Regions from separate parts of the Homo sapiens genome. Here region 1 is linked to region 2. Evidence: promoter capture Hi-C in human tissues and cell types (Jung and others, 2019). All regions are on one chromosome and are shown on one strand. Each heading gives the region's core, a stretch centred on a gene start or on the middle of the fragment in contact. The rest is flanking DNA. Distances are from core to core; before and after follow the strand shown.

Region 1 (5,468 bases), core at 700-3,199, 180 kb before region 2:
TGTTTTATGCAGTGGTGGTTAAATTTACTAAAAGATTTTTTCAGGATTCCCATAGTGCAGGAATTAGCAAGCTATATCTCATTCAGGCCAATCAGTTACTGCTAGCGGACCCCATGGCCTTGTGCTCCCCATCTTAACATAGTATCTCTGATTTGTCTCACCAGACAAATCAGAGATACACTTCCCCTTTTATTCCGTGAGGAACCACAAGAGTCTGAACTGTGGCATCAATTTTGCAGTTGGATTTACATCTTTCTTAATGATTTGAAAATAATTTGTTTCAAAAATTGATTTTGACCAGCACACAATTTTGCTGGTATATCATGTTTAAGTAAATGAATTCTCCAGCAGTGAAGCACAACTAAAGTGAAGAGCTGAAGAGCAACTTAAGAAAGAACAATTAATTCCAATAAAGTTGGTAAAATGCTCAGTAAAATAATTTTCTTCCAATGGATGTCAGCATATTTAAACTTTGTGGTGTGATTCAGTTTATATACTCTAAGAGATTCAGTATTTTAGAAAAGTGCTCTTCAAGATTTTCCTAATGTATTATATGTATCTCTCATGAATTGAATTGATTTAGAAATTTAGTGTAAAAGTGTTACACACAGCCAACATGATTTATAAAGGATCTAGGATGCAATTATAATATTTTTGTGAATCAATTATGCCTTTTTAGGAAAAGATTTAGAAGTTAAAAATGCAGCTAATGAAGCTGTTAGAAAATAAAACCTGTATTAGTAGTCTTGGATTTAACAAGGAGAACAATCAGGAGTTGCTAAATATGGTCATCAAGTAGTAAACTTCACGTAGAAATAAAAAAATTGACCAAGTTCAGTAAAGAGATATTTATTTAGGTTAAAAATACCATTCAAAAACATTGGGAGAAGGTATTTATTAATGGAGATACCTTCTTCAGTGGCGATGATAAAGTCTCATTCATTGTTTTTCTTTATATAGTAAGAATTAGTCCTTTTTAGGAAGTGTGTGATATATATCACCATCTGTATTCTCATCCACATGTTACACTATTATTTCTAAATTTCCAAGAATAATCTGTAAAATAACTATTTTGCAGTATTTAATATCTCTATTTTCAGTAACATGTTATTATATTGTGTTGAGATAAATAACACTGATTAATAAATTGGAATATTATGAATGTTTTAATTTAAATTGAGAAATGAATGAGTTTCTGTAAGGACAAACACCTTTGTGTGTAGTATTATAGTTGCATACAAATTTGAGGCTACAGTGTTTGCTTTTTACAATGAATATTTTAACTCTATAATAATTGACATTGATATGGGAAGGTCTTAAATTTTCAGATTTCAGTGCTAAGGATGATAACATTTATGATAAATTGTGGAGACTTGGATATCAGTCTTCTTTTAAATTTCCTTTCTTTATTTCCTAAAATTGCCTACATTAAAACCCCATTCTTTAGAATGTTAGTTCAATGGAAGTGCCTGTTTTCTATAATGTCAGAGATTTAAGGAATTTAAAGCTTATTTCTATTTGGGTGCCACATTTGTTTTCAAAACACCCAATACTGAGGCAAGAGCAGTATTTGCCAAGTAGCAAATTCAAGAGCAAAATGTTTTGGCAGTCATATTGCCTGGCTTTGCCCAGGGTTGGTACCACTGTCCCCACTCCAGGAATGGACAACCTGTTATAACAAAAGTAACTGTGTGCTTATTAAGTGTCAGGTCTTATGGTAAGTGCTTTAAAATGCATTAGTCTTTCAAGAACCCAGTCAGAAGGGTTTTGTCATTACTATTTTCTGATGCAAAAAAAATGAAATTAAAGAAGATTAAATAATTTATCCAAAATAACAGTTAGTGGGTGTGATGAGGTGCTCCCTCAGCTATCACCCTAAAAAATCTAAGAATGCCAGTTCTTCTCAGCTTTCAGTTTGGAGTAGGCAAACATGTATCTAAAAATAAAAATAAATTATTTGATGACACTAAATTTTATATAATCAGCCAAAGTTTATGCAATCATTTTTAATGTTTTTATTCTATTATTTTGTCATCTTATGAAAAATCAGGAACTCAATTCTGTGGTCCTCTAATCTACCTGGATCATAGTGGAGAATTAGAAAGCAGAGAAAATGTGGCAAATCTATGTATTAAAGCAATCCCCTCAAGCACTATCCAGCATTCATTTATTGTTATTTCACACCTAGTTTCAGCAAGCTTTTTTTGTTGCTTAATTTTAAACCTACAATTAAGTCATGCACTATTACAATAAACTTTTTTTTAATGACTCACCTTAAGTAGCTAGAACTATGCTACCCCTGGGTATGCAAGGATGAATTAAGACAGTTTTCCCTGCCTTTAATCTAGAAATTAGATATCAGCAGGAGATGACCACAAGTGGCCAAGTTGACAGAATTGACAGCAGTTAAAAGTGACAGCTGATAGTGGGAGTGGATTCTGAAACACTGTCAAAAGAAAAAAAGCCTAGAGTATTATAGAGTATTTCACTGGGACTTGAGGATGTTACTGAGGACAATACCAGTACCTGGTATTCACACTGAGGAAAAGATTAAATTACATTCAGTGTATTCTGTTAAAGAAGTCAAATAAATGTAATGTCTTTCAATGATTTTCATCCAAAAATAGTGGTACTTTAAAAAATCTTTAGCTGTCATACCTAGAATGACTGTTCCAGATAACCAGAGTTTTACTATGCCTTAATAGTCTCAGTAATAAAACTCAAATAATTGTTGAAGGATGAATTTTTGTTAAGGAAAAAAATCCCAATAGATTTTAGTTGTACAATTTATTCAGAGATAGGAGGTCCTTCTGAGTTCAAGTCTACGTTCCAGAAGTTTTATGTCTGGAATTTTTCATCAAGTCCTAGTGTAAACATTGACTAGAACTTTTTGTTTGACACCATTGTGAAAAATTGCTCTGTGGATAGAAAACATTTTAATCTTGTGTTTCAGCTCATTTGATCTGATGACCATAATTTATAGTTTATTTTTCCTCCCCAAGTGTGTTGTTGACTATGGTATAATTCTTTTTTTCTTTTTCTTTCTTTCTTTCTTTTTTTTTTTTTTTTTTTTTGTTTGATGAGTTTGAAGAGGAAGCTTAAAATACATTTCAGTACATGGCTCTGAATCACTTAAAATCATAAGAGGTTAAAGCTGTAAGGAACTTTATATATCATCGGACCTAGTTCCTTCATGTTACAGATTTAAGCCAGCCCAGAGAGGGTTGGTAACTTGCTCAAACACAATAGGAGTTTTTCACAGGGTCCACATTCCTGTTTGATATATCTGATTCCAATGTCACCTACTTTTTGTCACCTATTCATATTGAGTCATTTGGGGTAGAGGAACAAGGAACAATGCAGGATTCAAAAATGCCTTAAACCCTCCTTATTTATCAAATTATCATCTTGTGGCAAGGCAGTTTTTCTCTGAGCAGCATTGCTGAGACTCAAACTCAGTTTTGAAGTCTTGTTCATTCCTTGGAGGAGTATTTATATTTCCCTATAGGGAACTCTTCCTGCCTTTCTTCTTCTGAGAACCATTTCATTTTTCTGAAAATCATGTACTAAGTACCTACTATGTGACAGGGACTCTAATAGCCCCCAGTGATCAGAAGTAAAGAAAGATCACAGTCTCTTCCTTGCAAAAAAACACAGTCTACAATGGGGAACGAATGGTAAAGCAGTAGTAATAGCAGTGCAATCTGGCACAGGAACATGGGAGCTCAGAGGGCTAACTCAGCCTGGCTTTAGTGAGGAGGTATTCCCAGAGTTTAAACTGGCAAGTTCCAGAAGCCCACACTGATCTTCCATTAGTTTCTAGAGAGATCAGGTGAAGGGACCTGAGATTATTCCTCTTTTAAGGCCTCTCAACTTTACTTTTTTTTTTTTTTTTTTTGGAGACAAGAGTCTTGCTCTATACCCCAGGCTGGAGTGCAGTGGCCTGATCTTGGCTCACTGCCCCTCTGCCTCCTGGGTTCAAGCAATTCTCGTGCCTCACCCTCCCCAGTAGCTGGGGATTACAGGTGCGTGCCACCACACCCAGCTAATTGTCATATTTTTAGTAGAGACGGGGTTTCACCATGTTGGCCAGGTTGGTCTCAAACTCCTGACCTCAAGTGATCTGCCCATCTTGTCCTCCCCAAGTGGGATTACAGGCGTGAGTCACTGCACCTGGCCTCAACTTCACTTTGGTAATATTTTTCTTCTACAGAGTGGTCTCTGTAATCCCTGATCTCTCTAAATGTTAAATATTTACTGTGGAGTCAACAAACCTGAGAGGAGACATCATGGAGAAGGAGATTCCATTACCTCCTACCCTCATAAGAAAATGAAAATCAAATACAGACCAGGGACCATGACTGAAAGGACTCTGAAAGATTGTGGAACCTTTGTATAATAGTATCCATGTTTTTGTTGTCTCCTCTGCATTTCTTACATGACTAAGCACTGACTGGTTAAACCAGAAAAGGAAGCTTAGCTTCTTTCGTTTTTAGGACAGCAAAGATGGGGATGGTGACAGGGGAGTTTGAGACATTCTGTCCCTTTCCATAGCCATTCCTGGAAGAAAGAATGTCCAGGATTAACTGGTTGGTGGCACAGCCACCTCAGGGAAAGGGAAACTGACCCCTGGGGACTGAAGTCAGGAATAAAGAAGTGACAAGGAGCTAGCTGGGGCCTGGGGAAGGCCCTGGGGCTGGACACTAGAAAGACCCACCGGGGTCTTTTCTATTTTTATATTCAACATTTTATCTTTCGTTGTAAAACTCAGGAAAACACCTTTAACAAACAAAAATAACTTCTCTCTTAAGTTGTTCATTTTACTAAATGGCCAACATGGATTGGATATGGTAGAAGGAAAGAACATTTTCTGCAGAAGGGAGAAAAAAACCACAATCTATTTTATGAGGAGGAATGAACTCTGGGAATAGTTCTCTGACCCTTTGTGTGTCAGTGTGTTCTCAGCCTGAACTGGAAGAAAATGGGATAGCATGTGGAATGTGGGAAAGTGCGAAGACTGATGCAAAATTCACTATCTGCCTCATTAAATACACTAGTAGGTTTTCAAGAGAATGAGTCTGTTATCACCACAGTAAATTTCTCACTCTGGGCCTAACTCCTTATCTAAAACTTAATAGAGCTTAATAAGTTCAAATTTTTCCTGTCTTTCTGGGAATCATTTTCACCTTTATCTCTGATCCTGTACTTTCCCTAGGTCAGAGTAAAATATAATGGGAAACGGGCAAGTAGGTAGGAAATGTGGAGAAGGTCAAGGCCTTTTTATAATGGTTCATTGTAAATTTAAAATTCTTAGATATGTATTTCATACAGATTCACATATGTTCTTCTGGATGAATTAGAAATTTTAATTGTGAGGATCAATAAAGTAGCGCAACCAGCTTTCACATCTGTATGAAATTTAGGACTTTGCAAAGGATGTTGCACACCAAAAATTACAAAATAATTCA
Region 2 (6,096 bases), core at 834-3,333:
TAAAGCAATGCCACTCTTCTCCCGGATTCTTTCATTTGGAGAAATATAGTTATTTTTCATAAAATGTACATTATTTATGTTCACACATAATAGGATTTTTGTTAAAGGACTTACTGAGTAAAGGGCTCTTGAGACCAAAGAGTTTGAGAAGCCCCAGCTTAACCTTCCATATTTCCTGCTCTGAATGTGGTGTCCCTCACAACTGCAACTAGGCAGGAGAGCACCCTGGAAGGGGTTCTCAAACTACTTTGTCTCAGGAACACTTTATCCTCTTAAAATTAATGTGAGGCAGGAGTTTGTTCTTTGTTTCTAAAAGTTTTGCCTGGCTCTGGAAAATCGTAGCTCCTGACTTATTCTGCACTTCATGACAGTGTAATGTTAATTTGTCCAGTTCTGAGAACAAAAACCAAGAAGGATGCATGTTATTTCCCCCCACCCCCAGAGATAAAACACAAATTCCTGTCTCACATTAAAGGAAGTGTCCTGCCTCCCAAACACAGGTCTGTTCCAAACACTTACTCACATTTCAGTGAGTCAGAAGGAAACAGACAGATATTCATCTCCCTGAAACCTGGCTGACTTCCTTCAAAAAGTCTGTAAGGAGCGTCAAAATCGTGTCACCGGTTAGTGAGCAGCCACCTAAGAGCTCTCAGGTGATAGCCGGAGTTTTAGTAAGCAGGTGAGTACCCCAGACAATTCAGAAAAAAATGCCTTCAGGTGTTTGTCAAGGTGAGTAAGTGCAGCCAGTAAGTGACTGATAAGAAAACAGGAAAGAGCCTGGGACTATATAATTTGGGTTCAAAGGGTATTAGTCATAAGCCATCAGCAGCAACATCTGATGCATACCAATTTAATACTTTAACAATGTGACACATCAGCCCTATCTATAGTAAAGAGAAGAGCTTGATTTTTATGAATTATTAAGTCCTTCCCACCTTGAGCCACTTTGCTTCCTAGAGGCAGTATCTCAGGCATCCCATTCAGCTCATAGTAGCATTCCATGAAGATCTGGAATGATGACAATAATGATGATTATTAGACTCATAACTCCTTAAGCTTGATTTATGAAAACAGTTCGTTCCTTCACAAAAGTAGTCACTGGAAGAATTCTGGTTTCAGCAATGTGCTGGAAATTTGTGGCCAAACTTTTGGATAAAACATAAGATTCAGACAAGAAAAATTAATATCCTATTTCTTAGGTTTTTAACTAAAAATCTCGGATATAGAATGTTCTCTTTCCAGATGTGAGACTGAAATAATGGAAGAAAATGGTCACAGTCTATGTCATGGTGTAATGTAGACAGGGAGAGTCACAAGTGCATGTATGGGCTCTCAGCCTTTTCTCTGGCCTTGAAGTTAATCTCCTAAACTCAGTCATTAAATCAGCTCTTAATTATCTCGGAGGAGAGGAAGTAATGATGATTTCTCTCTCTCTGTCTCTCTGTCACACACACACACACACACACAGCTCTTGCAGCAGGTATTGCTTAAATATCACCTTGGATAATCATAACTTGTGAGCAGATCTTCTTTCCTGATGAGTTAGTTTCTAACCTGGTCATTCTGCGCTTATTTTTGTCCCTTTCTCCACCCACTTAGGAAAAACAGAGAAAGGGACGCACCGCGCAGCCCCTAGGCACTGTGGTTTAGGGCTAGTGCCCTCGGCACCCGCTGCCAGGAGCCGGGCGCTGCCAAGGGCTGCGGAGGGGCCACGTTCTCCCGGGGACTGGGGCATCTCCTGCGTGCTGGCGACAGGCTGCGGGGGCGGAGTGGTGCCAGGGCGGGCGCTCGCCCGTCGGATATGCCCACCCGTCCCGTCCAGGGCAGGAAAGCCTGCCAGGGCGCCATCCCCATCCCCACCGCCTCCAGGCTGCCGGGGCTGGGCCGCTGTACGGGAGCCAAGGTGCGGTGCCCCGCGTGTGGACGAGCCGAGGTGCAGCCCGCGGGGCCGCAGGGCCGGGGTGGGGCGGGGCGCGGCCGGAGCAGATCCGGTGTTTGCGGAATCAGGAGGGGCGGGCTGGGGCGGGCCCTCGGCGCTGCAGGAGCTGCCCAGAAACTTTTCCCTGCTCTCACCGGGCGGGGGAGAGAAGCCCTCTGGACAGCTTCTAGAGTGTGCAGGTTCTCGTATCCCTCGGCCAAGGGTATCCTCTGCAAACCTCTGCAAACCCAGCGCAACTACGGTCCCCCGGTCAGACCCAGGATGGGGCCAGAACGGACAGGGGCCGCGCCGCTGCCGCTGCTGCTGGTGTTAGCGCTCAGTCAAGGTAAGCGGGGATTTCGCTCTGCATCGGCTGCAGGAGGGACCCGCGCGGCTTCCTGGGGCTCGCTGGAGGGATTGGGCGGAACTAGGGAGCGAGCTCCGTGTGTTCCCTCGGATTCCACGTGGACTCGGGCTCCCAGCCACCAGGACCTGCTTGGAAAGAGATACTTCTTCGTTCCCTTCCTGCTATCCCAGGCCTTGCGTCCCCATTAGGCGCGTCTCGCCCTGTCTGTTAAGCACCCTCCAAAGTCATCTCAGTGAGTGCTTTGTTTTAGGTACACACACGCACACACACACACACACACACAGACAGACACGCACGCACTCAAGCATGGACAGTGTGGGGATCCGCGGGTGTCCTGGAGACCGCGAGTCCTGCAGCCCAACTTCCCCTGGCTCAGACAGGTGCCGCGCCTGCCAGAGACCAGGGAAATCCGGAATCCATTGCTGATGGCGGCCTGCAGCTCCCCAGCGCGGTGCTTGCTGGCTTTGCAGAAGCCTGCGAGCCCCAAAATGCTTATTTTTCAACCCAAGGATGTGAATAATGCCTCTATTTCTTACTTGAGGACGAAGCGCTGTGTTTCTTCCCGGGGGGACTTGGAATAAACCAAGCGCCACTTAAATACTTGGCAGAGGGGAATTCTTCCTTCCCTTCTGCCTTCCTCTTATTGTTGTAACATTGTCTATTCGACGAATGTAAACTTAGGCTAGGAAAAGTTCTTTTCACTTCTGGATCCTAGATGCCGCAATGAGAGAATAAGCCGGAGCAGCCGCTCTAACTGTAGTGCTGTGGCAGTGGGGCCCGCCCACCTCCTGAGTTCTTTTACACTAAGAGGAGGAAATAAGGCTGGGGTGGAGAGCTTTTGTGGGACCATCGCCTGAGTACTTTTTCCCTGACCATTAGGCAGAGCTAGAGTGTGGTCAAATTTAAGAATTTTAGTTTATTTGGAGGGAGAAGGAGACACGTTTGTATAATGTAGTTTGAACAGCGATCAAAACAAAACAAAAAAGTTGTCTCTGATTTTAAAGTGTGTGTGTGGTTTTTTTTTTTTTTTTTTACAAAGAAGATAAATATTTCCTAAGCTGTCCTCCTTTGAGACTGACATTCAGCCACTTGCTATTCTTTATTGTGGAGGAATGAATCCTAGTCCACGTCAACCTGGTGGCATTTTCTCCAGGTCAGAGATAAGAGAGAAATAGCACCACTGTCCCCAGCCCGAGCAGAGAATGGGCATCTTAGGTTTTCTGTCTCACCTGTATTGGGTGCTTCAGATACTTTCTCCGGGAACCAGATGAGTTGTTTTGAGGGGCCACCAACCCTAATCTACGGATTTCAGGTAAAGTTGTACTTGACATTGAAAATGAGTCTCTGGAATACAACTAGAGCTAATAGAAATATAAACCCAAGCTTTTCATCTCTCTGTAATTACCCAGTATTAAAATAAGCTGTGGAAACATAACATCATTTTCTTATCTTTGAAATGTTGAGGCTTGTTATGTAAAGAGCAGTGAGAAATTCTTTAATGGAATGTAACGCTGCAAGGCATGAAGTCAGGAACAGAGACTTAACCTGGAGTTAATAAGGACACCTCAGGGCAAGCAAGCAGAGATGATCGAAAATAACATCTGCAAAAGTTTTGTGCATTTATTCCCTCCTCCTACTCCAGCCATTTGTATACTCAAGGAACAGGTTTTCTCTTAATTTAAGATCCTCATAAGAAAGCTCTCTCATTTGTGATATCACTTGAGGTTCCTGGAGAAGCAGCATCGTTTTTTGGTACCATGAGTATCCCAGGTTAACATGAATAAGTGAAATCTCTAGCTCAGTAGTATCTAAAATTTTGTATGGCATTACCCTATCTGTATAAAATTTCTCATTCACTATCATTACACACACACACACACATAACTGTTATAAAATTATAGTATGTACAATTGCATCATATCACATACAAAAATTCAAATTTAAAAGCTATGTATGTGACAGAGCTTCATTATGATGATCTTAAATTAAGAGAAAACCTGTTCCTTGAGTATACAATATGCCGTGTTATGTATATACAATTGTATATACATATATATACCTGTTAATATGTATAAAACACATGTGTGTTTAGACATCTTGTATCATCTCTAGCATACATGCAAACCACTTTAAAAACATATCACCTTCAAATCTTATTTTAACACTTACATTCAAATTTGCTTTCCAGAAACCTTTTCACAGGTGCTTAAGAAGAAAATGTACTCATAGTTTAGTCCTATATTTATCACCTTTCAGTGCTCATTTCTAAGTGCTTAATACCATGAAAATGGTAAATGGGCAGTCTGAGGATGAAAAAGAGAGAACATAAGAGGCCTAGATAATCTATAAACTAAATATAGGCCATTAGCAGAAGGCAAATGTAATTTTGAAATGAAGGCCATCACGTATTTTCTCCAGTATGTTCACAGGTCAAGGATAGTCCTTCCACCCAGGTTCTAGACCACATCTTTTCTTACTATCCCTGAAACCCTGCCCCAGCACTCATCCCTCTTCAGTGCACGTCTTCAAATTCTCTCCCTAATGTAACTTCCCCTCAGTCTGTAAATATTCTAATTTTTCTTATTGTAAAAAAAATATTTCTTTTGATATTTAATTTCCTCCTGAAACATCCTGTACTTCTGGCTTCTGTTCTCTTCCTGTTTTTCTCCTCCTTTCCTCGCTGCTCTCCCGTCATCTCCTTCACAGGCTCTTTCCTTGTTGGTGTTTGCAGAGTTTCATCCTGAATCCTCCTCTTCATTCTGCAGATTGTCTCTGGGCCCATTCCCTGCACAGGTCCCTATCTCCAGCCAGCCTCCCCTTCTGAGTTCCAGATCAGTATTTCCATCAGCCACCAAATTTCTCCAGCTAGACAGTCTGTAAGTAAGCCAGATTCAACATTTCCAAAACTGAATTTAATACGTGTCCTCCAGAATTTTCTCCTCTATTGGCTACCATTGTTTAATGGCAGTATTATTATCACACAAACATGAAAGCCAGGAATTTGTCCCCATGTTTTCAACCTCACAGCCACTCTCCAAATTCTCTTGGCTCTCCTCCCATCCATGCAACTCCTGCCACCCAGTCAGTCCCTCATCTTATGTCTGTATGTAACTTTTAAACTGGATTTTCTTTTCTTATCTCTCCAACCCATTCTCTTCATTTTCACTAATGATATCTTTCTAAGACACTTATATGTTTCCAATTACTGCTTTGTTTCAAATGTTAGTGGCTCCCCATCTCAGGTAGGGTAAAGTGCCAATTTCTTGGCATGTCATAAAAAGGTACATTCTACCTATCCAATCTTTTCTTTACTGTATGCTTTCCTGAACACAAATACACATTCACACACACACACCACACACATGCCCACACATGTACACACTCTAAAGCCATCTATATACACCATTCTTTGTTATGACTACACCTGATCATACCATATTTAGTGTGAAAATATTTTCCAAATACTCCCTTTGCCTTCATTGCATTGTTGCTTTCACCCCTTTTCACTCATCTCTTTGCAACTGACCATTATCCAATGCTAGAAGGGTCAATCCCAAGCAAAATTATAAAGTAGAGAACTTTTACTTTTGCAACAAAAAGGAAAGCTTGAGGTAACCTACCTTTGCTGGGTCCCACCCTAAACCACCTCTCTGGTCTCATCCTCAGCCCCTTAATGGGACTTAGGCCGCCCTCTGATAAAGTAACTTTGCTCCCCTATGGCTTAGCAGTTATACCTGCCCAACCTCAGCTAAGCTTTGCTCTCTTAATACTAGGTCCTGAGCCACTGTTTGACTTAAATTTATGGACTGGG

Evidence for each region. Contacts are between HindIII fragments. The study calls those that stand out against the background at their distance.
Region 1: a contact is called between a fragment that was not itself captured here and the fragment with the promoter of ITGA2 in region 2, in 1 of the 25 tissues and cell types used here (hippocampus).

Annotation. Positions count from the first base shown.
Region 1 is chr5:52,805,624-52,811,091 of GRCh38, forward strand. The region is part of intron 1 of ITGA1 (integrin subunit alpha 1); the gene reads left to right. Among named protein-coding and RNA genes, the nearest start is that of PELO-AS1, 7.5 kb to the left of the region's middle. The HindIII fragment of the contact is 3,674 bases long and covers 113-3,786 here.
Region 2 is chr5:52,987,269-52,993,364 of GRCh38, forward strand. ITGA2 (integrin subunit alpha 2) reads left to right here and starts at 2,084. Exons shown (of 30, transcript NM_002203.4): 1 at 2,084-2,264. The coding sequence starts at 2,201. It overlaps ITGA2-AS1 (ITGA2 antisense RNA 1), which reads right to left and starts at 3,018. Exons shown (of 4, transcript NR_186583.1): 1 at 2,822-3,018; 2 at 936-1,008. RefSeq lists an enhancer at 224-1,423 and a silencer at 1,888-2,037. The HindIII fragment of the contact is 5,063 bases long and covers 1-4,779 here.